5 separate regions of the Homo sapiens genome follow, and regions 1, 2, 3 and 5 are each linked to region 4. Evidence: promoter capture Hi-C in 16 types of primary human blood cells and fetal thymus (Javierre and others, 2016). All regions are on one chromosome and are shown on one strand. Each heading gives the region's core, a stretch centred on a gene start or on the middle of the fragment in contact. The rest is flanking DNA. Distances are from core to core; before and after follow the strand shown.

What was found. The method cuts DNA at HindIII sites, captures the fragments that hold promoters and counts their contacts. A CHiCAGO score of 5 or more calls a contact.
Region 1: a fragment that was not itself captured here is called in contact with the fragment with the promoter of DENND5A in region 4 in 6 of 17 cell types (megakaryocytes, naive CD4 T cells, M2 macrophages and 3 more); the score reaches 7.8 in megakaryocytes.
Region 2: a fragment that was not itself captured here is called in contact with the fragment with the promoter of DENND5A in region 4 in 1 of 17 cell types (endothelial precursors); the score reaches 5.4 in endothelial precursors.
Region 3: a contact is called between a fragment that was not itself captured here and the fragment with the promoter of DENND5A in region 4, in 7 of 17 cell types (megakaryocytes, M2 macrophages, activated CD4 T cells and 4 more). The highest score is 7.3, in megakaryocytes.
Region 5: a contact is called between a fragment that was not itself captured here and the fragment with the promoter of DENND5A in region 4, in 4 of 17 cell types (megakaryocytes, M2 macrophages, activated CD4 T cells and 1 more). The highest score is 7.5, in megakaryocytes.

What each region holds. Positions count from the first base shown.
Region 1 is chr11:9,475,457-9,478,156 of GRCh38, reverse strand. All of the region lies in intron 5 of ZNF143 (zinc finger protein 143), which reads right to left. Among named protein-coding and RNA genes, the nearest start is that of ZNF143, 16 kb to the right of the region's middle. The HindIII fragment of the contact is 4,989 bases long and covers 1-2,700 here.
Region 2 is chr11:9,010,838-9,013,537 of GRCh38, reverse strand. All of the region lies in intron 1 of NRIP3-DT (NRIP3 divergent transcript), which reads right to left. Among named protein-coding and RNA genes, the nearest start is that of NRIP3-DT, 8.1 kb to the right of the region's middle. The HindIII fragment of the contact is 1,608 bases long and covers 552-2,159 here.
Region 3 is chr11:9,456,773-9,459,472 of GRCh38, reverse strand. No RefSeq gene overlaps it. Among named protein-coding and RNA genes, the nearest start is that of ZNF143-AS1, 2.6 kb to the left of the region's middle. RefSeq lists an enhancer at 1-92. The HindIII fragment of the contact is 392 bases long and covers 1,109-1,500 here.
Region 4 is chr11:9,263,939-9,266,638 of GRCh38, reverse strand. It overlaps DENND5A (DENN domain containing 5A), which reads left to right and starts at 1,289. Exons shown (of 23, transcript NM_015213.4): 1 at 1,289-1,678. The coding sequence starts at 1,570. RefSeq lists enhancers at 988-1,057, 2,138-2,257, 2,418-2,700 and silencers at 1,338-1,437, 1,488-1,847. The HindIII fragment of the contact is 8,855 bases long and covers 1-1,986 here.
Region 5 is chr11:9,424,565-9,427,264 of GRCh38, reverse strand. It overlaps IPO7 (importin 7), which reads right to left. Exons shown (of 25, transcript NM_006391.3): 11 at 2,275-2,351; 12 at 2,003-2,119. Among named protein-coding and RNA genes, the nearest start is that of SNORA23, 2.9 kb to the left of the region's middle. The HindIII fragment of the contact is 4,305 bases long and covers 1-2,700 here.

The DNA.
Region 1 (2,700 bases), core at 15-2,514, 210 kb before region 4:
TAGCAATCAGAAAATTTAAAAAACATTAACAGGCCGGGTGCAGTGGCTCAAGCCTATAATCCCAGGACTCTGGGAGGCCGAGGCGGGCGGATCACGAGGTCAGGAGATTGAGACCATCCTGGCTAACACGGTGAAACACCCTCTCTACTAAAAATACAAAAAACTTAGCAGGGCACGGTGGCACGCGCCTGTATTCCCAGCTACTGGGGAGGCTGAGGCAGGAGACTCACTTGAACCTGGGAGGCAGAGGTTGCAGTGAGCCAAGATCGTGCCACTGCACTCCAGCCTGGGCGACAGAGCCAGAGTCCCTCTCAAAAAACAAACCAAAAACAAAAACAAACAAAGAAAAAACACTAACAATTAACAGTCAAAATCAATATGTAGAGAAATCAGGATTTGAACTCATGTCAGTATGACTCCACAGTCCCTCCATGGTGGTTTTTTCCCCTCTAAATGTCCACACTAAGATATATCTATATCTATACTGGTATTGATATAAAATAGTGATTTTATATCGATATATATATAGAGATAGTGAAATAATAAATCTAGCCAGTTACAATGAACCTGTGACTAACTCTTATTGATAAAGAAAAAAGTGCGGCCTTTTGTGGTGGCTCACGCCTGTAATCCCAACACTTTGGGAGGCCAAGCCAGGCGGATCACAAGGTCAAGAGATTGAGACCATCCTAGCCAACATGGTGAAATCCCATCTCTACTAAAAATACAAAAAAAATAGCTGGGCATGGTGGCGCGCACCTGTAGTCCCAGCTACTTGGGAGGCTGAAGCAGGAGAATCGCTTGAACCCAGGATGTGGAGGTTGCAGTGAGCCGAGATTGCACCACTGCACTCCAGCCTGGTGACAGAGCAAGACTCTGCTGAAAAGAAAAGAAAGAAAAGGAAGGAAGGGAAGGAAGGGAAGGAAGGGAAGGAAGGGAAGGAAGGGAAGGGAGGGAAAGGAGGGAAAGGAGGGAAGGGAGAGGAGGAAGGAAGGAAGGAAGGAAGGAAGGAAGGAAGGAAGGAAGGAAGGAAGGAAGGAAGGGGTGCAGACTTTACTTTTTTCCAACTGTAATTAAAGAAATTTATTTATAAATTTAAGTATTTTAAATTTTTTAAAGATTCCTCCCTTTGTTTGGGAGGCTGAGGAGGGCAGATCACAAGGTCAGGAGACCGAGACCATCCTGGCTAACACGGTGAAACCCCGCCTCTACTAAAAAAAATACAAAAAATTAGCCGGGCATGGTGGTGGGTGCCTGTAGTCCCAGCTACTCCGAAGGCTGAGGCAGGAGAATGGTGTGAACCCAGGAGGCGGAGCTTGCAGTGAGCCGAGATCGCACCACTGCACTCCAGACTGGGAGAGAGAGCGAGAGTCTGTCTCAAAAAAAAAAAAAAAAAAAAAAAAAAAAAAAGATTCCTCCCTTTGGCTTCACAACAAAACAGCCTTTCTAAAACGTGTTATGTCATTCTATAATAAAATGCTCTCTAGCTGGGTGCAGTGGCTCATGCCTGTAATCCCAGCACTTTGGGAGGCTGAAGTGGGCGGATCACCTGAGGTCAGGAGTTTGAGACCAGCCTGACCAACATGGTGAAACCCCATCTTTACTAAAACACAAAAATTAGCCGGGTGTAGTGGCGGGCACCTGTAATCTCAGCTACTTGGGAGGCTGAGGCAGGAGAATCGCTTGAAACCAGGAGGCGGAGGTTGCAGTGAGCCAAGATCGTGTCCCTGCACTCCAGCCTGGCAACAGAGCGAGACTGTCTCAAAATAATAAATTAATTAATTAATTAAAATAAAATATTCTCTAAAGTAGTAACAATAGGTAACATTTATTGAGCATTTAGTATGAGACAAGCACGGTTCTAAGTGCTTTACATGTTTGTGCATTCTGTCCTCACAACAACCCTACGTATGATATGGACACCTACTATAATCCTCATTTTACAGATGATGAAACTAAAGCACAGAAAAGTAATCTGCTTAATGTCACACAGCAAAAAAAAAGTAGCTTTGAATATACATAGTCTGGTTGCAGAGCTGTACTCATCATTCCTAGACATTCCACCTCAAACCCCTGAACTTCCCTTAAACAAATGTAATAAGCATTAACATTTTGCTGTATTTGCTTCAAATATTTTTGACATTGTATACTTAGTTTCAATTAAACATAGTAGGCAAAGGACCTTGCTTTAAAAATTTTATACACACACACACACACACACACACACACACACACACACACACACATATATATTTTTTTGAGACAGGGTCTCACTCTGTTGCCCAGGCTGGAGTGCAGTGGCACGATCTCAACTACACTGCAACCTCTACCTCCTGGGTTCAAGCGATTCTCCTGCCTCAGCCTCCCTAGTAGCCAGGATTGAAGGCATGCACTACCACAACTGGCTAATTTTTGTATTTTTTTGTATTTTTAGTAGAGACAGGGTTTTGCATGGCCAGGCTGGTCTCAAACCCCTGACCTCAGGTGATCCGCCTGCATCGGCCTCCCAAAGTGCTAGGATTACAGGCATGAGCCAACATGCCCAGGCAAAAAATTGCATTTAAGAGGAAGAAATAGGTTAGGCAAAGTGGTTCATGTCTGTGACCCCACTGCTTTGGGAGGTCGGAGCAGGAGGACTGCTTGAGGCCAGGAGTTCAGGACCAGCCTGAGCAACATAGCAAGACCCTATATTTAACAAAA
Region 2 (2,700 bases), core at 106-2,605, 250 kb after region 4:
CAGAGTCCAAGAAGGCAGTACTCAGGTCTCTAGGCAGGCAAGGTCAATGAAGACACTCACTGTGGCAAGGTGTGAATAATTTGCATGAAACCTGTGGTCATTGAAACAAAGCCCCTTTTTGAGACATGAGGACACAGGCCTGGCCAAGGTGGGTCTGACCACTGTGCAGCATGTGCCAGGGAGAGTACAGAACTCAAAGTGCAATGTGCTAACGGAGTGTAGACAGACTGAAAAGAGTGAATTTCATTTTTTTAAACATCATGAATGAGATAGGAAAAAAGCCAGTAATTATACAGCAGAGAAATCAGGCAATACCTTGACCAGATGATCAAAATTAGCATGTCCAATAAAGGACAGATGGATATCATGTGCCTACAGATGTGATAGCCTGAGAAGAACGTACCATCACCTATACTGTACTCAAGCCAAAAATGCATCACCTCAATCTCAATACAAGGAAAATGCAGACAAACACAAAATGAAGAATGCTCTATTTTAAAAAGGGGAGGGAAGTTGAAAAACAACTTGCACATCAGTGAAATTTTAAAGCTTGTGTGCTTCAAAAGACACTATTAAGAAGTGAAAAGGTAGCCCATGGAATGGTAGAAAATGTTTGTAAATCATATATCTGACAAGAGACTAATAGCTACAATATGTAAAGAGTTCTTACAAGTCAATAATAATGAGACAAATCACTCAATTAAAAATGGACAGAGGAGGCTGGGCATGTTGGCTCACACCTGTAATCCCAGCACTTTGGGAGGCCGAGGCAGGTGGATCATGAGATCAGGAGACTGAGACCATCCTGGCTAATACAGTGAAACCCTGTCTCTACTAAAAATACAAAAAATTAGCCAGGCGTGGTGGTGGGCACCTGTGGTCCCAGCTACTCGGGAGGTTGAGGCAGGAGAATGCCGTGAACCCAGGGGGCGGAGCTTGCAGTGAGCCGAGGTCACGCCACTGCACTCCAGCCTAGGCGACAGAGCGAGACTCTGTCTCAAAAAAAAAAAAAAAAAAAAAGAAGATGGACAGAGGATTTTAATAGACATGTTTCCAAAGAAGACAAACAAATGACCAATAAGCACCTGAAAAGATGCTTAACATCATTAGTCATCAGGGAAACACAAATCAGAACCATAATGAGATACCATCTCAACCTCACTAGCATGGCTATAATAAAAAAGACAGATGGTAAAAAGTGTTGAAGAGGATGTGAAGAAATTGGAACCCTCATACACTGCTGGTGGAGATGCAGAATGGTGCAGCTGCTTTGGAGAGTAGTCTGTTAATTCCTCAAAAGTCACACGGGCTACCATGTGACCCAGCAATTCTACTCCAGGAGATGAATAAAAGGCACAAAAAGATTTCCACATGAGATTTCTTAGCAACATTAGTCGTAATACCTTAAAAGTGGAAACAGCTTACATATCTATCAACTAATGTACAGCTAGACAAAATGTGGTAGATCCATACAATGGAATATTATTTGGCCATAGTTAAATACTGATAGATGCTACAGTATGGATGAATTTTGAAAACACTGTGCTACGTGAAAGAAGCCAGTCACAAAAGACCATGCATTATATGATTCCAGTTACATGAAATGTCCAGAATAGGCAAATTCATAGAGACAGGAAGTGGATTACAAGTTAGTTGTCTAGGGCTGGAGAAATTGGTAGGCAATGGGGAATGATTAATGGGTACCAAGTTTCTCTTGGGACGATGAAATGTTCTAGAAGTCATTGTGGTGATGGTTGCACAGCTCTCTGAATTTATTTAAAACTTGAATTGTACACATTAAGTACAATTGTATGAATTGGGTGAATTTTATGGTATGTGAATTATATCACACACAGAAACCAGTAACTAAAAAGGGTTAACTGGTTTTTGTGTTAACCAGTTAACCCTTTTTAATGACACTGACAGTTTTGAATTTTAACATTTTGAATGTCAAAAATGTCTGTGTCATGGAGGACAAAGAAAGCTGTGGAAATGTTCCAGATTAAAGGAGGCTAAAGAGACATGACAACCAAATACAATACCTGCTCCTAGCCTGGATCCTGTACTGGAGGAATGTGTTATAAATGGTCAACTGACAAAATTGGAACATGAATAGTAGCTTAGATAAAAGTATTGTATCAATGTAAATTTATCAAGCTTCTATCTGTATTGTGGTTACATAAGAGAAAAATCTCTATTTTTAGGAAATATACAATGAAGTATTAGTGGTACAGGATCATAATGTATGAGTAATCTATCCTAAAATCGTTCAGAAAAAAGTGTGTGTGTGTGCATGTGTGTGTGTGTGTGTTTTGCAGGGAAGCAAATGAAATTGAACATTTTTATGAGTCAAAGGAAGCCATCAAGAAAGTGAAAAGGCAACTCATAAAATGGGAGAAAAATTTTGCAAGTCATGTGTGACAAGAGACTTGTAGCTAGAATATATAAAGAACTCTCCATTTGTTTGTGTCCTCTCTTATTTCCTTGAGCAGTGGCTTGTAGTTCTCCTTGAAGAGGTCCTTGAAGAGGAAGAATCAATATTGTGAAAATGGCCATACTGCCCAAAGTAATTTATAGATTCAATGCTCTCCCCATCAAGCGACTATTGACTTTCTTCACAGAATTGGAAAAACTACTTTAAATTTCATACAGAACCAAAAAAGAGCCCACATAGCCAAGACAATCCTAAGCAAAAAGAAC
Region 3 (2,700 bases), core at 55-2,554, 190 kb before region 4:
GATCTCAGCTCACTGCAACCTCCGCCTCCCAGGTTCAAGCGATTTCTCCTGCCTCAACCTCCTGAGTAGCTGGGACTACAGGCGCCCACCATCACGCCCGGCTAATTTTTCTGTTTTTAGTAGAGACGGGGTTTCACCATGTTGGCCAGGCTGGTCTGAAACTCCTGACCGCGTAATCCGCCCACCTCAGCCTACCAAAGTACTGGGATTACAGGCGTGAGCCACCGCGCCCGGCCCGGATTACTTTTTAAGCCCTTAAAATAAAAGTGTCACATATAAAAAATGGATTAGGTGGCCGGGCGCGGAGGCTCACGCCTGTAATCCCAGCACTTTGGGAGGCCAAGGCGGGCAGATCATGAGGTCAGGAGATCGAGACCATCCTGGCTAACGCGGTGAAACCCCGTCTCTACTAAAAATACAAAAAATTTAGCAGGCGTGGTGGCGGGCGCCTGTAGTCCCAGCTACTCGGGAGAATGAGGCAGGAAAATGGCGTGAACCCGGGAGGCGGAGCTTGCAGTGAGCTGAGATTGCGCCACTGCACTCCAGGCTGGGCAACAGAGCAAGATTCCGTCTCAAAAAAAAAAAAAAAAAAAAAAAAAAAAGGATTAGGTTACTTTTAACTGGAGGATTTTGCTCAGTTAAAATCAGTCTCCTACCCAATGGATACATTCTCTGTTACAAAGAAGTAGCCCAGCTGAAAAACAAATGGTTTTAATTTATAATTTCTGTTCCCTCCACATGTATCTGTGTTTTGTAATTGGAGGTGTTTTTTAACCCATCAGAATATTTTTATGCAGTTCCACTAAGTCCCATGCCTGTAGGCTACTCATTAAAACACTATAATACAGAATCTCAAGAATTTTTAAATCGCCCTCTTATTGTAGATAACAATTACAGGACATCTTTGTATCCCCAGAAGCTACTGAGTTGTTCTAAAAATTGAATGGCGATGATGGTGGCGGTGGATAGGATGCTATAATTGTAACTGGATTCAGAGAGAAACCTAATTCTGATTTGTCACAGGTAATGGAACGTTGTGTTAACAGTATTTACCAGTGACTATAGAACAGAGTTCAAATGTACATATATTCAGAGCCATTCATAAGCTTAAAATGTTATCCCATTCATCTCCCTTCCCTTATATCGTGTTATATCCGGTCAAATTAATGGCTTGAAAATGTTTCCCTGTCAATCAGTACTAGTCCAGGCTCTTAAATGCAGAAATTAAATAATTTCCCCAACTTCCTAAACAAGAGGTAACTTATTTGTAGCCCCCTTCAAAAACTGTTAAGATAATATTTTCTAAAACACTTCTTTCAGTAACTTAAAACTTACTGGAGAATTGGTTGGTTTTGGCATATTTATACCATGCTATAAGCATTAAAGTAGTATATATGTATACTATATATATATAGAAATTATATATGATATATATGTATACTATATATATAGAAATTATATATGATATATATAGAAAAAAGATAAACGATGAGTTAAGCTTAAAAGCAATTATTTCAGGCCGGGCGCGGTGGCTCACACCTGCAATCCTAGCACTTTGGGAAGCCGAGGCAGGCGGATCACGAGGTCAGGAGTTCGAGCCATGGTGAAACCCCGTCTCTACTAAAAATACAAAAATTAGCCCGGCGTGGTGGTGGGCGCCTGTAATCCCAGCTACTCAGCAGGCTGAGGCAGGAGAATGGCTTGAACCCCGGAGGCGGAGGTTGCAGTGAGCCAGGGTCACACCACTCCACTCCAGCCTGGGTGACAGAGTGAGAATCCATCTAAAAAAAAAAAAAGGCCGGGTGCGGTGGTTCACACCTGTAATCCCAGCACTTTGGGAGGCCGAGGAGGGTGGACCACCTGAAGTCAGGAGTTCGAGACCAACCAGGCCAACATGGCGAAATCGCATCTCTACTAAAAGTACAAAAATTAGGCTGGGCACGGTGGCTCACACTTGTAATCCCACCACTTTGGGAGGACGAGGCGGGCGGATCACAAGGTCAGGAGATCAAGACTATCCTGGCTAACACGGTGAAAACCCGTCTCTACTAAAAATACAAAAAATTGGCCGGGCACAGTGGCTCACGCCTGTAATCCCAGCACTTTGGGAGGCGGAAGTGGGCAGATCGCCTGAGGTCGGGAGTTTGAGACCAGCCTAGCCAGCATGGTGAAACGCCGTCTCTACTAAAAATGCAAAAATTAGCCGGGCATGGTGGCAGGTGCCTGTAATCCCAGCTACTTGGGAAGCTGAGGCAGGAGAATCGCTTGAACCCGGGAGGCGGAGGTTGCAGTGAGCCGAGATCGTGCCGTTGCACTCCAGCCTGGGCAACAGAGCAAGACTTTGTCCCAAAAAAGCAAACAAAAAGATAAATAAATAATAAAAATACAAAAAATTATCTGGGCGTGGTGGCATGCGCCTACAGTCCCAGCTACTCAGGAGGCTGAGGCAGGAGAATCCCTTGAACCTGGAAGGCAGAGGTTGCAGTGAGCCGAGATCGCACCACTGCACTCCCGCCTGGGTGACAGAGCGAGCCTCCATCTCAAAAAAGCAAAAAACAAAAATTAGCCGGCCATAGTGGTGGGTGCCTGTAATCCCAACTGCTCGGGAGGCTGAGTCAGGATAATAGCTTGATCCTGCGGGGCGGAGGTTGCCATGAGCCAAAATCGTGCCACTTCACTCCAGGTTGGGCGCAAGAGCGA
Region 4 (2,700 bases), core at 40-2,539:
AGACCAGCCTGACCAACACGGTGAATCCCTGTCTCTACTGAATACAAAAAATTAGCCGAGTGTGGTGGTGCGCGCCTGTAATCCTAGCTACTTGGGTGGCTGAGGCAGGAGAATCACTTGAACCTGGGAGGCAGAGGTGCAGTGAGCCGAGATTACGCCATTGCACTCCAGCCTGGGCAACAAGACAGAACTCCGTCTTGAAAAAAAAAATCTGTAATATTTACTGAGTGATTTCCATGTTCCAGGCAGTATTCTCATTGTTTTACCTGTACTTGCATTTACCTTATGTAATTGTCTCAAAAACCATGACGCCAGGCACTTAGAGATTAACTTGCTCAAGGTCAAAAGTAAATGATCGTCAGGATTGAAATCCGAGCATTTTTTTCTAGAGCCCATGCTAGTGACCACTATACCTGTGTTGCCTTTCTGGCCTCTGATCTCCAGTTTCCAACAAAGACACATCTGCCTAGCTTCTATGGGAAAGGAAATCGGAGGGTCCTAGGACAAGGACCAATAGGTAAGTTTCCCTTCGCCTCCTCCCTATCCTCTTACAGGAAAACAGGTTTAGGGGTGGATCTGAGAGTTTTCACAGAGTGAAGAGGAAGAGGAGCTCCCAAATGGCAGGCGCCTCTGGAGGCTTCCAGAGAAAAAAGGAGAGAGCGTGGGAAAAGGGCAGGCTGGGAGGTGGGAGCGGCGAGGAACGGGGAGCTGACCACAAGCCCAGGATTCCAGACCAGGCTTATGTCTCTTAGACTCAGCGTAACCTTGGATAAGTCCTTGCTTCTTTCTGAGACTCAGTTTCCCCGTCTGTAAAATAAGGGTAAATATAAAACCGGCTCATCCGCCCCTGCCAAAAGAGAGGACAGGGAGAAGGCCCTGTCTGGGGTCTAGGCTGACACGCTGCAGCTAGGATTAGGTGAGCTTCCGAGCTCAGTCGTGAGACCCCATCCTCATGGCAAGGCCGCGCTAAGATCTCTGGACCTCTGCTTGCTGGGTGGGTGGTTGGGGGCAGAGCATGGGCCAAATGCCCGGCTCTGCAGGCTGCGCCCACTCTTCTCGCACCTCCTCAGCCCTCCCTAAAGGAGTCTCAATCCCGGGGGAGTGGCAGTTGCGGGCGACCAAGCAGTCACCGGCTGCGCTGCGGCGACCTCCCGGGAAGCTGCGGCCGGCGGGGTCCGAAGAGCATCACGTCATCCTTTCCCCCAGGAGCCCGCCCCCTCCCAGACGGCGCCTGCGCAGGCGCGGTAGGAGGAGGGTCACGGTGGGGGCTGTCCACGCGCTCTCCGCCCTTCTCCAGGCTCGCTCGGGCCGCGGCGCTCTCGGCTAGCTGCAGCGGCGGCGGCGCGGAGGGGAAGGCATCCAGGATGCGGTGCGGGGCGGCCCGGTGCCCCCCCGCCCCGTCACGGCAGCCGCGGCGGCCGAGGGGACCGGGCCAGGGCCGGGGGCGGCGGCCCGAGCCGCGGTAGCGGCGGCGGCGGGAGGGGCGGCCTGAGGGCGGACGGGCGGGCGCCCGGGTTGCGGGGGCTCGGTGCCGCTCCGCACTGCCCGGCCGGTCTCGGCCCCGGCGCCATGAGTGGCGGCGGCGGCGGAGGGGGCTCGGCGCCCAGTCGCTTCGCCGACTACTTTGTCATCTGCGGACTGGACACGGAGACCGGGCTGGAGCCGGACGAGCTGTCGGGTGAGTGCGCGCCGAGCCCGGGGCGCTTTCCCGCGCCCGCTGTCGTCGGGGACCCCAGAAGAAACCTTCCTTCAGCCCCGCTTTGTCCCGGGAGCCGGGCGAGTGTCGGCCGGGAGGACCAGGGCGGGCGCGGGCGAAGGGGGCTTTGGACTGGAGGGGGGAAACGGATGAGGGGCTCTGAGCCATGAGGGGTCCAAACCTACGGCCCGCTGCGCAGTGGCCACGTCTTCGGCGACCAGAAAGAGGGAGGGTTGTGTGTTCTCAGTTTGGTGTAGGTTGAGTGACTTCGTTTAAAATAAAGGAAAGCTTGTCCTCTGGCACCCATTAGGGAGGGAAGGCGTCCCACGTCCTAGTGAAAGTAAGTTCCACCCAGACTTAAAAAAAAGGAAAACAAAAACTTGGTGAGTTTATCTGGCCACTTCCCAAGAAGCTTGTGATACTAGTTCCTCAAAACCGTTATACCCCAGCCCTGGGCTGGGCCCCCTGAGTCAGATTGCAGCTCTGCGCGTCTGGATGGGATATGAAGTAATAAAGTGAACTTGGGCGGCACCAAGAAGAGTAGGAACTCCCTTAGCCTTGGAAAGGGCTTGTATCCCGGGGCCATGCCTTTTTTGAAAAGTAATTTATGTCCTTTATGAGGACAGAGGCGTTTGTGAATAAAAGGGTAGCAGCATTGTAGTTGGAGAGGCTTGGTGTGTTCTGATGCGTTTCAAGTCATATTTGAAAGGGAAAGTGATGAGGGGAGTCAAAGATGGGGCCCTGACCAGATTTGGCACTCACTGCAGAAGGCCGTGAAAATTATACAGTCCCCGTGAATTTTCCACTGCACTGTCATTGGAGTCTTTGAATTGTAACAGTTTTGAAAATAAGTTTTTGTCTGGAGTTTCCAGTTAGTGGGTTTCAAGTGGGTGGAGGTTTGTCGGGTTGTACTTTAAGGTTGTGTCATCCTGATGAGGGGGACTCCTTTTCACTTTTCTGTCACTGTAAAGTTTCTCTTTCGAAAGTGATTATCCTGTTGACTA
Region 5 (2,700 bases), core at 194-2,693, 160 kb before region 4:
ATAAAAGACACAATGACTAAATATTCTGTGAGTACTTAGTGCCTGGCTTTAGAATGTAAAGATTTCTAACAACTCAATTATAAAAAGACAAATAACCCAATTAAAAATGGGCAAGGGCCAGGCACAGTGGCTCACGCCTGTAATCCTGGCACTTTGGGAGGCTGAGGCAGGCGGATCACCTGAAGCCAGGAGTTTGAGACCAGCCTGGCCAACATGGCAAAACCCCATCTCTACTAAAAATACAAAAATTAGGCTGGGGGCAGGCACCTGAGGCATGAGAATCACTTGAACCCGGAAGGTAGAGGTTGCAGTGAGTCGAGATTGCGCCACTGCACTCCAGCATATGGCGGGGGGGCGGGGAGGCGGAAATCTCAGCTACTTGGGAGGCTGAGGCAGGAGAATCACTTTAATGTGGGAGACTGGTGGCTGCAGCGAGCCAAGATCTCACCACTGCACTCCAGCCTGGGTGACAGAGCAAGACTCCATCTCAAAAAATAAAAAGAAAAAAAACAAAGGCAAGCAATTTTTTTGGGGCAAGGAATTTGAATAGATATTCTCTAAAGAAAATATACAAACGGATAGTAAGCACATGAAAAATTTCAAAGCCACAAAGACATAATGCTTCACGTTCACTAGGATGGCTATAATCAAAATATACTGCTGGCAGAAATATAAAATGGTATAGCTACGTTGGAAAATGGGTTCTGCGGTGTCTCAAATTATGACAAGCAATTCATACTCCTAGGTATATACCCATGAAAAATGAAAACGTATGTCCACATAAAAATTTAAACATGAATGTTCACAGCAACATTTGTAAGCAGCCAGAAAGTAGAAACAACTAATGAATGAGTAAATAAAATGTGGTATATTAATATAATGAAATATAATTTGGCAACAAAAAGGAAAAAGTACTGAAACCTGCTATAACACAGATAATCCTTGAAAACATTACACTAAATGAAAGAAGTCACCCACAAAGAGCTACGTATTATATGATTCCATTTATATAAAATGTCCACAATAAACAAATCCATAGAAAAAATGTGGACTATAGGTAGCCTAGGGTTGGGAGATTTGGGGTGATATGTGGAGTGACTGCTAATGTATACAGAGTTCCTTCTGGGGGTGATAGTTATACAACTGTGAATAAACTAAAAACCACTGAGTTGTACACTCCATAAGGTTGTTATTTTTTATTTTTTTATTTTTTTTTGAGACGGAGTCTCTGTCGCCTGGACTGGAGCATGGAGTGCAGTGGCATGACCTCGGCTCACTGCAGCCTCCGCCTCCCAAGTTCAAGTGATTCTCCTGCCTCAGCCTCCTAAGTAGCTGGGATTACAGGTGCCCACCACCATGCCCAGCTGATTTTTTTTTTTTTTTTTGGAGACAGAGTCTCACTCTGTCGCCCAGGCTGGATTGCAGTGGCGTGATCTCGGCTCACTGCAAACTCCACGTCCCGGGTTCAAGCCATTCTCCTGCCTCAGCCTCCTGAGTAGCTGGGACTACAGGCGCCAGCCACCATGCCCGGCTAATTTTTTATTTTTATTTTTAGTAGAGACGGGGTTTCACTGTGTTAGCCAGGATGGTCTCGATCTCCTGACCTCATGATCCACCCACCTCGGTCTCCCAAAATGCTGGGATTACAGGCGTGAGCCATCACGCCCGGCGGATTTTTGTATTTTTAGTAGAGACGGGGTTTCACCATGTTGGCCAGGCTGGTCTTCAACTGCTGACCTCAGGTGATCCCCCCGCCCTGGCCTCCCAAATAGCTGGGATTACAGGCATAAGCCACCACACCCGGCCTATTTTTTATCCTTATAGAGATGGGGGTATCACTATGTTGCCCAGGCTGTTCTCAAACTCCTGGGCTCAGGCAATCTGCCTGCCTCAGCATCCCGAAAGTGCTGGGATTATAGAAGTGAGCCACTGTGCCTGGCTGGCTATTTATTTTTTAAAACTACTTGCATAGTCATGCACATACAAACACACTAAAGAATACCTTCAGAAGTATTTCAGCTAAAGAGCCAATCATATGCAGGGCTCCATCTTTTTTTCGAGGGTCAGCATTTGGTTCTGTAAGAATCTGGTAACAAAATCCCATAGTCTTTTGCAGTACCTAGATTAAAAGAGAAAAGTATTGTTACTGAATAGGCCAACAGTCCTTAAAAAACATACTAACAAAATGACTCACATGACTAACATTTAAAAAGTGTATAGTTGAATAAATTTTAAATAATACAGAAAAGTTATCTAAACATTAAATAAGCCTACCTCTTTCCTCTTACTACAGGCTGTAAACAAAAGTGTCTGGGCAGCAGTGGTAGGAGAAATGAAATCTTCAAACACATCTAGAGAACAAGTTTAAAATTAAGACAATAAACATTAATTTCTTCAACAAAGCATTAAAAAACATGCTTAATCTTTACATAAGGTATGAAAATGATCCCAGATCCCTTTATAATTTTGCAAAAGCAGAATTCAATGTCTTTTCTGTACAAATTGAATGCTTTTGTTTGTTTTGAGATGGAGTCTCGCTCTGTCACTCAGGCTGGAGTGCAGTGGGCGATCTCGGCTCATTGTAACCTCCATCTCCCAGGTTCAAGCAATTCTCCTGCCTCAGCCTCCCAAGTAGCTGGTTTACAGGTGCCTGCCACCACGCCCGGCTAATTTTTGTATTTTTAGTAGAGATGGGGTTTC